Linked DNA regions of Homo sapiens: region 1 is linked to region 2. Evidence: promoter capture Hi-C in 16 types of primary human blood cells and fetal thymus (Javierre and others, 2016). All regions are on one chromosome and are shown on one strand. Each heading gives the region's core, a stretch centred on a gene start or on the middle of the fragment in contact. The rest is flanking DNA. Distances are from core to core; before and after follow the strand shown. Region 1 overlaps CPNE5 (copine 5). Region 2 holds the start of PIM1 (Pim-1 proto-oncogene, serine/threonine kinase).

Region 1 (4,483 bases), core at 716-3,215, 400 kb before region 2:
CACTAGACCCGGCTCCTAGGGTTATTGTAAAATTTAAATTCACAAAATAAGATAACGCATTTAAACCAATTAGAATACAACTTGGTCCATGTCCTAAGTCCTCAGTAACTGTAATCGTATTACCTGGCTTCTACACCCATCATTCCGAGAACACTGCCCTTTCTCATCAGGCCCGGGTTCTCATCCTCCTGTACCTCTTCTCACAATAGGAGGGAATGATCCCTGACCGTGCCGCCCTCCTCTTAGTTCCCTCCTATCCCTCTGACCATCTCCTCTTCTTTCTTGCTCCTGGCCTCTGGCATCACCCACAGGGCCTCTCAGGGCACCAGATCTCTGGCCACCCCCCTCCTGGAGACCCTAGACTGCTGTCCCCTCCTGCTTTAGCGGTGCCTGGTCCACAGCTGCCTCCTCTCAATGTGGCTGAAACCAAGTTTACCTCTCTTTCCCCAACCTCTCAACAGCAGCAGCTCGTTTTCAAACAACAAACATAATCTTTATAACTTAAGAAGGATAATTTTTTTAAAAATGGGTTTCAGATAGGCTGTGAAAAGAACTGCGGAACACAAATCTGTGAGTAAGAATCTGGCTGCCGATCACACTGCCCATTTCTGTCGGTGGTGCCACCTTTTCCTGCCCTCAAACGCTGAACCATTATCCCTTCCCCTCTTTCACTCCCTTACCCAGGCAGGTACCAAGGCCTTTTGGGTCTTCCTCTTCCTTCTTGCTGTTCCCCTCTCCTCTCCCCTCTGAATTATTTGGTATTAAAGCCAGAAGGACGTTAATGCTTTGAGGACTAAAACCAATCCAAGCAGCTTCCCTACCTCTAATCAGAAAGCAGAACTGCCCCTAACCCCTGAGCAAGGTGCTCATTAGTAAGCCTCCCCCAGATGCACCCTGGTCACAGCCCTGTCATGCCATGTCTTGGCTATCTGGCAACAGTGCATAGGGATTAACAACACAGAATCTAGAGCCAGGCTGCCGGGGTCCACATCCTGGTTCTACCACCGGCTGGCAGCAAGACACTGGGCAAGTGACTTAATCTCTCAGGGCCTCTCTGTCTCCTTACCTGTAAAATGTGGCTAGCATCAGCACCTCTTTGCAATGAGCTAATTGTTGGGGGGATTAAATTAGTTCCTATACATAAAGCACTTAGAGCAGGGCCTGGCCCATGGTTAAGTGCTATAGGAGTCTTTGCTATTATCATGACCTGTCTGTCTCCCCACTGGCCTGGGAGCAACCTAAGAGGGAGGCTTGGGTCAATAGGCCCCCACAGCACCCAACACAGTGCCTGGGGCCTGACTGGCTTGGAAGACACGGCTGCTGAATTAAATCAACTACGTTCTGTGAGGCTCCAAGAGGTGTCTTGGAAGGAGGGGACAGTGGCCCCATTTTCCTGCACAGGGCCCTCCCCTGCCTACCCTGGAGGGCCTTCTGATACTGGCACCTCCTGAGTGTCTGTTGGGTGCGTGGGTTACACTGGGGCTGGGGGGCGGGGGGATAGGCCTGATCGTTCTTGGAGCCAGAGTGACATCCCTGGCCTCCTTGATTAACACTACTGTCAGTCACATTATGGAAGATCTGCTTCTGGACATGGGGGAGGGCCATCCTGCAGCGAGATGAGGCTAGGCTCTGCCTCAGAGTGGGAGGTGGGAGCCTGCCCCTCCCACCAAATAAATACCCACCTCCTCCAACGGCCCAGTGGTGAAGCCAGGCCTCCGAGCCCTGCTGCCCCTTTCACTGTCCCTGACAAAGCTGGCTCCTGCAACCCTGGGAGCTCCTCTCTAGAGATACAGGGTTGTGAGGGGTCAGTTGGGCCAGGGATCCCCAATTCCTTCTGCCCTGTGAGACTTTAACTGCCATACTCTCCCATCCCCCTACCTTGAATTTCCTCTCACTTTGTTTCCATCTCCCTTTATTCCCGTGCCCCTGTCCCCAGGATCCTCCACCCCTGACTTTCCAGCCTTTCCTGGGCCTTCTTTAGAACTCACTGCTCCAACCAGCCCGTCCTCTCACTGCTCCAACCAGCCTGTCCTCTCATCCCCTCACCCACTCTAGAAGCCCCAGGAGCCAGCTAGATGTGTAACAGAGGCTTGTTTGACTGCAGCGCTAAGACCGTCTTTGTTCCCAGTCTTATTTTGTGCACTTATTTATCTGTCTAAAATACATGTGCACATCTGTGCTGCCTGTGGTCAGACCACAGTCTCCCTAAAGATGGGAAGGCGACCCTGTTCGTTTAAATCCGCACAGCTAGAGGCGCCACGCTGGGACACAGGAGGCACTCAGTGACCACCTGTGGAACAGACTGTGGCTCTTCTGTCCCAGCCAAGAGGCAGGAAAAAGAACAAGCTCATGTCTCAAACTGGCAGCCTGGGGGTTTCTTCGGAGTGTAACAGGGGTGCCTGGAGGCCATTCATCTGCTGATCATCCCCTCAACATGCCTTTTCAGGCTCCCAGCTGCCCCAAGGTGTCTGGTTTTGTTTGTTTGTTTTCTTTTTTGTCTTTAAGGTTTTCTTTTTTTTTTCTTGAGACAGCATCCCAAGCTGGAGTGCAGTGGTGCAATCATAGCTCATTGCAGCCTTGAACTCCTGGGCTCACGTGATCCTTTTGCCTCAGCCACCTGAGTAGCTGGGTCCACAGATGTGCGCCACTATACCCAGATAATTTTTTTTAATGTTTTAATTTTTTTAAATTTAGTTTTAAATTTTTAAATTTTTTTTTGTAAAGATGGGGGTCTCACTATGTTACGCGGGCTGGTCTTGAACTCCTGGATTCAAGCCCATCTCAGCCTCCCAAAGTGTTGGGATTACAGGCGTGAGCCACCACGCCTGACCCCAGGTGTCTGTTTCGACACCCCAGTGCTCCTGTCGGAGTGGCCCAGAGGCCCAGCTTTCTTAGCTGTCCAGAGAGCCCTGCCCATGAGCCCCCTACCACCTCACCCACCTGAGCTGCAGCAATCACCAGGAGACAGGGATGGGTTCTCCTGACTCAACAGAAACCAACACAGTCTCACAGCTCCCATTTTGGGTGGTGGCCCCACTCGCTCTCTCGGCGCTTGCTACAATGTATAATTACATGTTTCCTTGTGTGATTATTGGATTAATGTCTGCCTCCCCTACTGGCATGTAAACACCACTAGGTTGGGTGAAGGGTGAAGACTGCACCCTGCTGATTTCCCAGCATCTAGCACAGTGCCTGGTACATGACAGGGGTTCCCTAAACATTTGTGGATGAGATGCTGAATTTGGTATTTTAGGCACAACAGAGCCTCGTTGTGTAGGTTGTGTCGTGTGAGCGTCAATGCAGTCCTGTAGAGTAGGCAGACATTTTAATACCCATTTTACAGATAAGGAAACTCAGGCTCAGACAGGTCAAGGATTGCCCAGGTTGACAGTGCTTTTTGGTCACAGAGTCAGAATTAGCAACCAGGTATCTGGTATCTACACTCAACAATCTACACTCAAATGATGATGAAGATGATAGCCAACATGTAATAAGAGTAGGCATATGTTAAAACAAAAAATCTAGCCTGGGCAACATGGTGAAACCCCATGTCCACCAAAAACACAAAAAATTAGCCGGGCGTGGTGGTGCATGGTTGTGGTACCAGCTACTCGGGAGGCTGAGGTGGGAGGATTGCTTGAGCCCAGGAGGTGGAAGCTGCAGTAAGCTGAAATCGGTGAGATGAGAAAATGTCCCTTCACTCCAGCCTGGGTGAAAGAGTGAAATCCCATCTCAATTAAAAAAAAAAAAAAAATCTGCCAGGCATGGTGGTTCACACCTGTAATCCCAGCACTTTGGGAGGCAGAGATGGGTGCATTGCTTGAGCCCAGGAGTTTGATACCAGCTTGGACAACACAGCGAAACCAGTCTCTACAAAAATAAAAAATTAGCTGGGCGTGGTGGTAGGTGCCTGTAGTCCCAACTATATTCAGGAGGTAGAGGTGGAAGGATCGCTTGAGCCTGGGAGGTCCAGGCTGCAGTGAGCTGTGATGGCGCCACTGTCACTGCATTCCAGCCTGGGTGACTGAGCGAGACCCTGTCTAAAAAAAGAGAAAGAAATCCCAGAAGCTCTTTGCACTCTACCCCGTTTGTTTATGGCAACTAGGCTGGCAGGATGTATCCCTAGGATCTTGACTCCCCAGTCTGTTGGCCAGGAATTGGGACCAGCTGCCTCTGCCTGCATCAACACCCTGCTTCCCTGCTGCCATCTGCTCCTCCACTGGGAACAATGAAAAGACAAGCTGCTGAACTCCAGGCCTGGGCACCCGGGACACCCATCTGGGTTTCCCTGGAATCCTGGGCACTTCCCATCCCCCTAACCTTGGGAGTTTCCCACCAGTGGGGATGCCAGACAGAGGGGAAAGAGGTGGGGCGGGTGGGGAGAAGAGGATCTGTGAGGCTGTGAAGAGGCAGACATTGCCGGGTGCAGCAGGGAAAGAGTGGAGGGGCTCACCAAGCCCCAGCCTGTGCAGGGCACCCCCTA
Region 2 (5,044 bases), core at 1,142-3,641:
ACCTGTAATCCCAGCACTTTGGGAGGCCGAGGCAGGCGGATCATAAGGTCAGGAGTTCGAGACCAGCCTGGCCAACATGGTGAAACTCCGTCTCTACTAAAAATACAAAAATTAGCTGGGCATGGTGGCGGGCGCTTGTAATCCCAGCTACTTGGGAGGCTGAGGCAGGAGAACCAATTGTTTGAACCCGGGAGATGGAGGTTGCAGTGAGCCGAGATAGTGCCATTGCACTCTAGCCTGGGTAACAGGGCGAGATTCCGTCTCAAAAAAAAAAAAAAAAAGGGCATTCAAGGAATAGGAAGACAAAGTATAATGGAAAAGTAAATGAACAAAAAGGATTTAAAAAAACAAATCCCAACTGTCAGATTAGTGGACAGTGAACCAATGCTCTGAGTTTGTTCATCAATCTGTGGTAGAACTACAATTGTTTCCTAAAGAGTGGAAAGGCTTTGAATAAAAGTGGAGAGGTAGAGAGGGCTCTCCCAGGACAGGTTGATTGCTTCCGCAAAGGCAAAGGGTCTGTAAAGTGCTAGGCGAGTGGGAACAAGTGGGAATAGTTCTGTTTGACTACATTTGAGGGTTTGAGAAAGGAAAGGGAGGGTAGAAGGGATGGAAGTGGGAATCACATATGTTTAATGATGTCTTGTTCGGTGCCAAGGACAGTTTTAGACCCTGATAAGCGGAAAGCTTTGAATACTCAGGAGGTGAATTTGGGTCATTTCATCTCCTCTCTTAGCTGCTGTATGACCCTGTGCCATCCTATTTATGTTTCATTTTCCTATCTGCAAAAAGGGAGTAATTCTTGTTCCCTTGGGTTTTCTCCTAGTCATAAAAAATGAATGAGTTCGGCCACAGTACACAAACAAAAGGAAAATATGTAATATTTTGTAGGATAAATTCATAAAAGTTGTGGAGGATCTGGGCACTTTTATAAAGCAAGCACTGTAGAAAACTTTCAAAGGAAACATTTAAATTCACTAATGACAGCTATAGGGATCCTGATTTTTCCTTTAAATGGCAGGCACTTCAAAAAATTAAAATAGAATGTAGTTAGCTTTCAATTACTTAGGCCACTGACAATTCAATTTATGGATTATATAGTATTTTAATTTACTCATTTCACACGTCGTTATCAACTCTACATGAAGTTTAAAAGGACAAAGGATGCAAGTGGAATTGGTCAGTGTTCCGGGTTATTTCCAAGGGAGGCAGAGGGTGGGGGGTTTCCTTTGAGACAAGACTTGGGGTTGGCCAATAATTGCTGGTATTGCCTGCCTGGTAATAACAGGCTGATGAAAAGGTGACTACAACGTGAAAACTGGTTAAATCAAGCGCACCCTCCCACCCTCGTTTTAGATGAGGAATTTTCCGCCCTCACAGAAGGGGCTGAGGCAGCATCTGGCATCACAACACTAACATTTGCTTCGTGATTTCCTCTTTACCCGGCCCTTTGACACACATCCCTTCCCAGAAATCAGGATTCGCTGGTGCTTTTGCATTTCTAAAATGGGAATCCCGTGGCTGAGCTTTTAGCCGGCCGGAACGACTGAGGGCTGCATCCCTTTCCCGCAGGAGCGGGGCTCCCGCCTCCAGTTCTGTTCCAGGCCTGACTCCTCCACTCCCTCCGTGACTCATGTCCTGCGGATCCTTCGCCCCCGACGCGCCCCCCAACACACAAACCCCCAGAATCCGCCCCCAGCCTACAGCGCGACGTCAGCCCGCCCCAGCCGACTTGGAGGTCTCGGGTCTGAGTCACACAGAAAGACCACCCTCGTCGGCATCCCCACACACAGTCCGACACCCGGCGCGCCGGCCTCCCCGCCTGACACACTAACGCCCGTCGTCTCCGCGCAACTTGTTATGCTCCGGCTCGAGCCCTTGACCCAAAACCCTCAGCGAAACGGAGAGCCGCAGAGCCGGCCTCGGGCGGCCTTTGATGGCTTTGTTATTGTTTGGGTTTGAATCGATACGCCCCTCCCCATCCTTCCTCCCTCGCGGCCCTACACCCAGCTCCCGCCTCCCCTCACGCCCCGCGCCCCTCCCCCTCCATTTTGGCGCCTTTTCCTTCCCGCCACGTCGTGGCGGCGTAGAGACCATTCTGACCGCGAGAGCTGGGCGGGGCGGGGGCGGGGCGCGCCGAGTTATGCAGATCAATCGGCCTCTGGTTGGCTGGAGTAGCGCTGGCAGGGGCGGGGCCGGGGCGCGGCCACAGAGCGCGCGGGGCGGGGGCCGAGGGGAGTCGCCCAGTCCCGCCGCTTCCCCACCCCCTCTCCTCCCTCGGCCGGCCCGGCAGCCCTGCTCCCCGCCTTGGCCTCCCGGAGAGGCCCCGCCCCGTCCCCGCCCGCCGCGCCCTCCCCGCGCGCCCTCCCCGCCGGCGCGCTCCTCCCCTTTACTCCTGGCTGCGGGGCGAGCCGGGCGTCTGCTGCAGCGGCCGCGGTGGCTGAGGAGGCCCGAGAGGAGTCGGTGGCAGCGGCGGCGGCGGGACCGGCAGCAGCAGCAGCAGCAGCAGCAGCAGCAACCACTAGCCTCCTGCCCCGCGGCGCTGCCGCACGAGCCCCACGAGCCGCTCACCCCGCCGTTCTCAGCGCTGCCCGACCCCGCTGGCGCGCCCTCCCGCCGCCAGTCCCGGCAGCGCCCTCAGTTGTCCTCCGACTCGCCCTCGGCCTTCCGCGCCAGCCGCAGCCACAGCCGCAACGCCACCCGCAGCCACAGCCACAGCCACAGCCCCAGGCATAGCCTTCGGCACAGCCCCGGCTCCGGCTCCTGCGGCAGCTCCTCTGGGCACCGTCCCTGCGCCGACATCCTGGAGGTTGGGATGCTCTTGTCCAAAATCAACTCGCTTGCCCACCTGCGCGCCGCGCCCTGCAACGACCTGCACGCCACCAAGCTGGCGCCCGGTGAGAGCACCCCCCGCCTCCGGCCCGGGGATGCGGGGCGGCGGCGGGATCTCCTGGGTGGGGAGCTGGCGGCTCGCGGGCCGGCACTGAGTCCCCGTGCTTCCCCCTTTCCTAGGCAAGGAGAAGGAGCCCCTGGAGTCGCAGTACCAGGTGGGCCCGCTACTGGGCAGCGGCGGCTTCGGCTCGGTCTACTCAGGCATCCGCGTCTCCGACAACTTGCCGGTGAGTGGGCGCCCCGCGGTGGGGAGGGCGCGCCGGGCGGGGGGCGCACGGGCGTGCTTTAGCCCGGACGAGGGAACCTGACGGAGACCCTGGGCTTCCAGGTGGCCATCAAACACGTGGAGAAGGACCGGATTTCCGACTGGGGAGAGCTGGTGAGTGCCCTGCAGGAGCGACCCCCAGGATGAGTGGGTGGGGTGAGGGGCGCCCCCGACTCCCGCCCTAACGCGGCCCCCTCGCCCCTGCAGCCTAATGGCACTCGAGTGCCCATGGAAGTGGTCCTGCTGAAGAAGGTGAGCTCGGGTTTCTCCGGCGTCATTAGGCTCCTGGACTGGTTCGAGAGGCCCGACAGTTTCGTCCTGATCCTGGAGAGGCCCGAGCCGGTGCAAGATCTCTTCGACTTCATCACGGAAAGGGGAGCCCTGCAAGAGGAGCTGGCCCGCAGCTTCTTCTGGCAGGTGCTGGAGGCCGTGCGGCACTGCCACAACTGCGGGGTGCTCCACCGCGACATCAAGGACGAAAACATCCTTATCGACCTCAATCGCGGCGAGCTCAAGCTCATCGACTTCGGGTCGGGGGCGCTGCTCAAGGACACCGTCTACACGGACTTCGATGGTGAGCCAGGCCCGGGAGGGAGCTGCCCAGGTGACTCGGCCCGGCCCGGCCCAGTCCGGAGGCCTCGGCCAGTCTCCCGCGCCAGCCTTTTGTAAAGGTCATTGGGCCGCCTGGCTCGATGCTAGCCGGGGTGGGACGCAGGAGAGCCTCCCAGCGTAGTAAAGCCGGGGATTTTCAGCCAGCTGAACCTGTAATGTTTCTGGCATGATTTTATTCTTCAAGTGGAATTCAGTTAGTTCCAGGCTTTCCCGATGAATAAGAGGTTGTGGGCAACCGGCGGTAGCCCAGATTTTTCTAAAGTCTGACCCAGTTTCCCCGCCAGTAAAAGGATGGGGGCGGGGGAAGAGGTGGAAATTGATGCCGGTTTTGTAATTTTTGTTTTATTTTATAAGGGAGTTAGTTTTCTGTATGGTAGTTTTAGAGCTGCAGTTCTTAACTCCTTTCTGATCTAGGGAAGGTTAAGGAATAGGAACTATATTATTACTGGTGGCTTTTTTTTTTCTTTAGTGTTAAGGGGAGAGAGAGTCAGGAATGAATGTTGTGAAATAAGATCTGTCGCTGGTTTGAAAATTAGTTGGGTGTCTCCGCAGAGAGGATGAAAACCTATCCTAGGGAGGGGCTTGGAGCGGGTTCTTTCAGAAAAGAAGGAATGGAGAGCCTGAGATCAAAGCTGCGGAGGGTGGGTCATCATCTGAGCGGCTTAACCTAACAAACGACAGCCTTTCAAAACTTGTGACTCGGGCTTGTGGTTTATGTTTATTTGCCCTTGGAGGACGCTGGGTTGGGCTGCATTTTTTGTATTTAACAGTTAATGGCTGGCCGGGTCCTCCCATGTTTTTTCTTTCAAGTCTTTGCTGCCCCCTGGTGAGCACCAGCGGCATGGCCCCTCCTTTTTCTTTTACTACCCAAAGTTTGTAAACAGGAATCACGTGGTCTGAAACCAACCCTGCAGCTCTGTCTACCTTTCCAGTCTAGGGAGGAAAGGGTGTGGGTGTCTGCTCCTGCTTGCATCGGGTGGGGAGGAAGGCCTCCCAAAGGGCACCCTGACTTAGGATGTTGTGCAAGCATCCTTGCTTGGATCCTGTCGGCCATGAGAATCTCACCCGGGCTCCTGGGCAGTGGTGAATGCAATTTAAGGATAGTCTATGAGATACCTTTCTTGGTTGTGCAGACATGCATCCCTTCATCCTTCGCAGGCGGTCCTGCCTCACAGGGCCTCAAGTTTTGGGTCTGCGGCCAGCTGTGTTTGTTTCTTGGAGCAGTTCATAAAGAATTTCAGTTTATGGTTTGGGCTAGCAGAGAGGTGGGTAATG

The links. Contacts are between HindIII fragments. The CHiCAGO score rates a contact against its expected background, and 5 or more counts as called.
Region 1: a contact is called between a fragment that was not itself captured here and the fragment with the promoter of PIM1 in region 2, in 2 of 17 cell types (naive B cells and naive CD4 T cells). The highest score is 7.0, in naive B cells.

The regions. Positions count from the first base shown.
Region 1 is chr6:36,770,346-36,774,828 of GRCh38, forward strand. All of the region lies in intron 10 of CPNE5 (copine 5), which reads right to left. Among named protein-coding and RNA genes, the nearest start is that of CPNE5, 67 kb to the right of the region's middle. RefSeq lists an enhancer at 1,573-2,072. The HindIII fragment of the contact is 8,826 bases long and covers 1-4,483 here.
Region 2 is chr6:37,167,761-37,172,804 of GRCh38, forward strand. PIM1 (Pim-1 proto-oncogene, serine/threonine kinase) reads left to right here and starts at 2,392. Exons shown (of 6, transcript NM_002648.4): 1 at 2,392-2,897; 2 at 3,013-3,119; 3 at 3,221-3,271; 4 at 3,365-3,731. The coding sequence starts at 2,816. RefSeq lists enhancers at 1,637-2,235, 4,157-4,750 and silencers at 1,861-2,640, 2,901-3,220, 4,410-4,509. The HindIII fragment of the contact is 5,698 bases long and covers 686-5,044 here.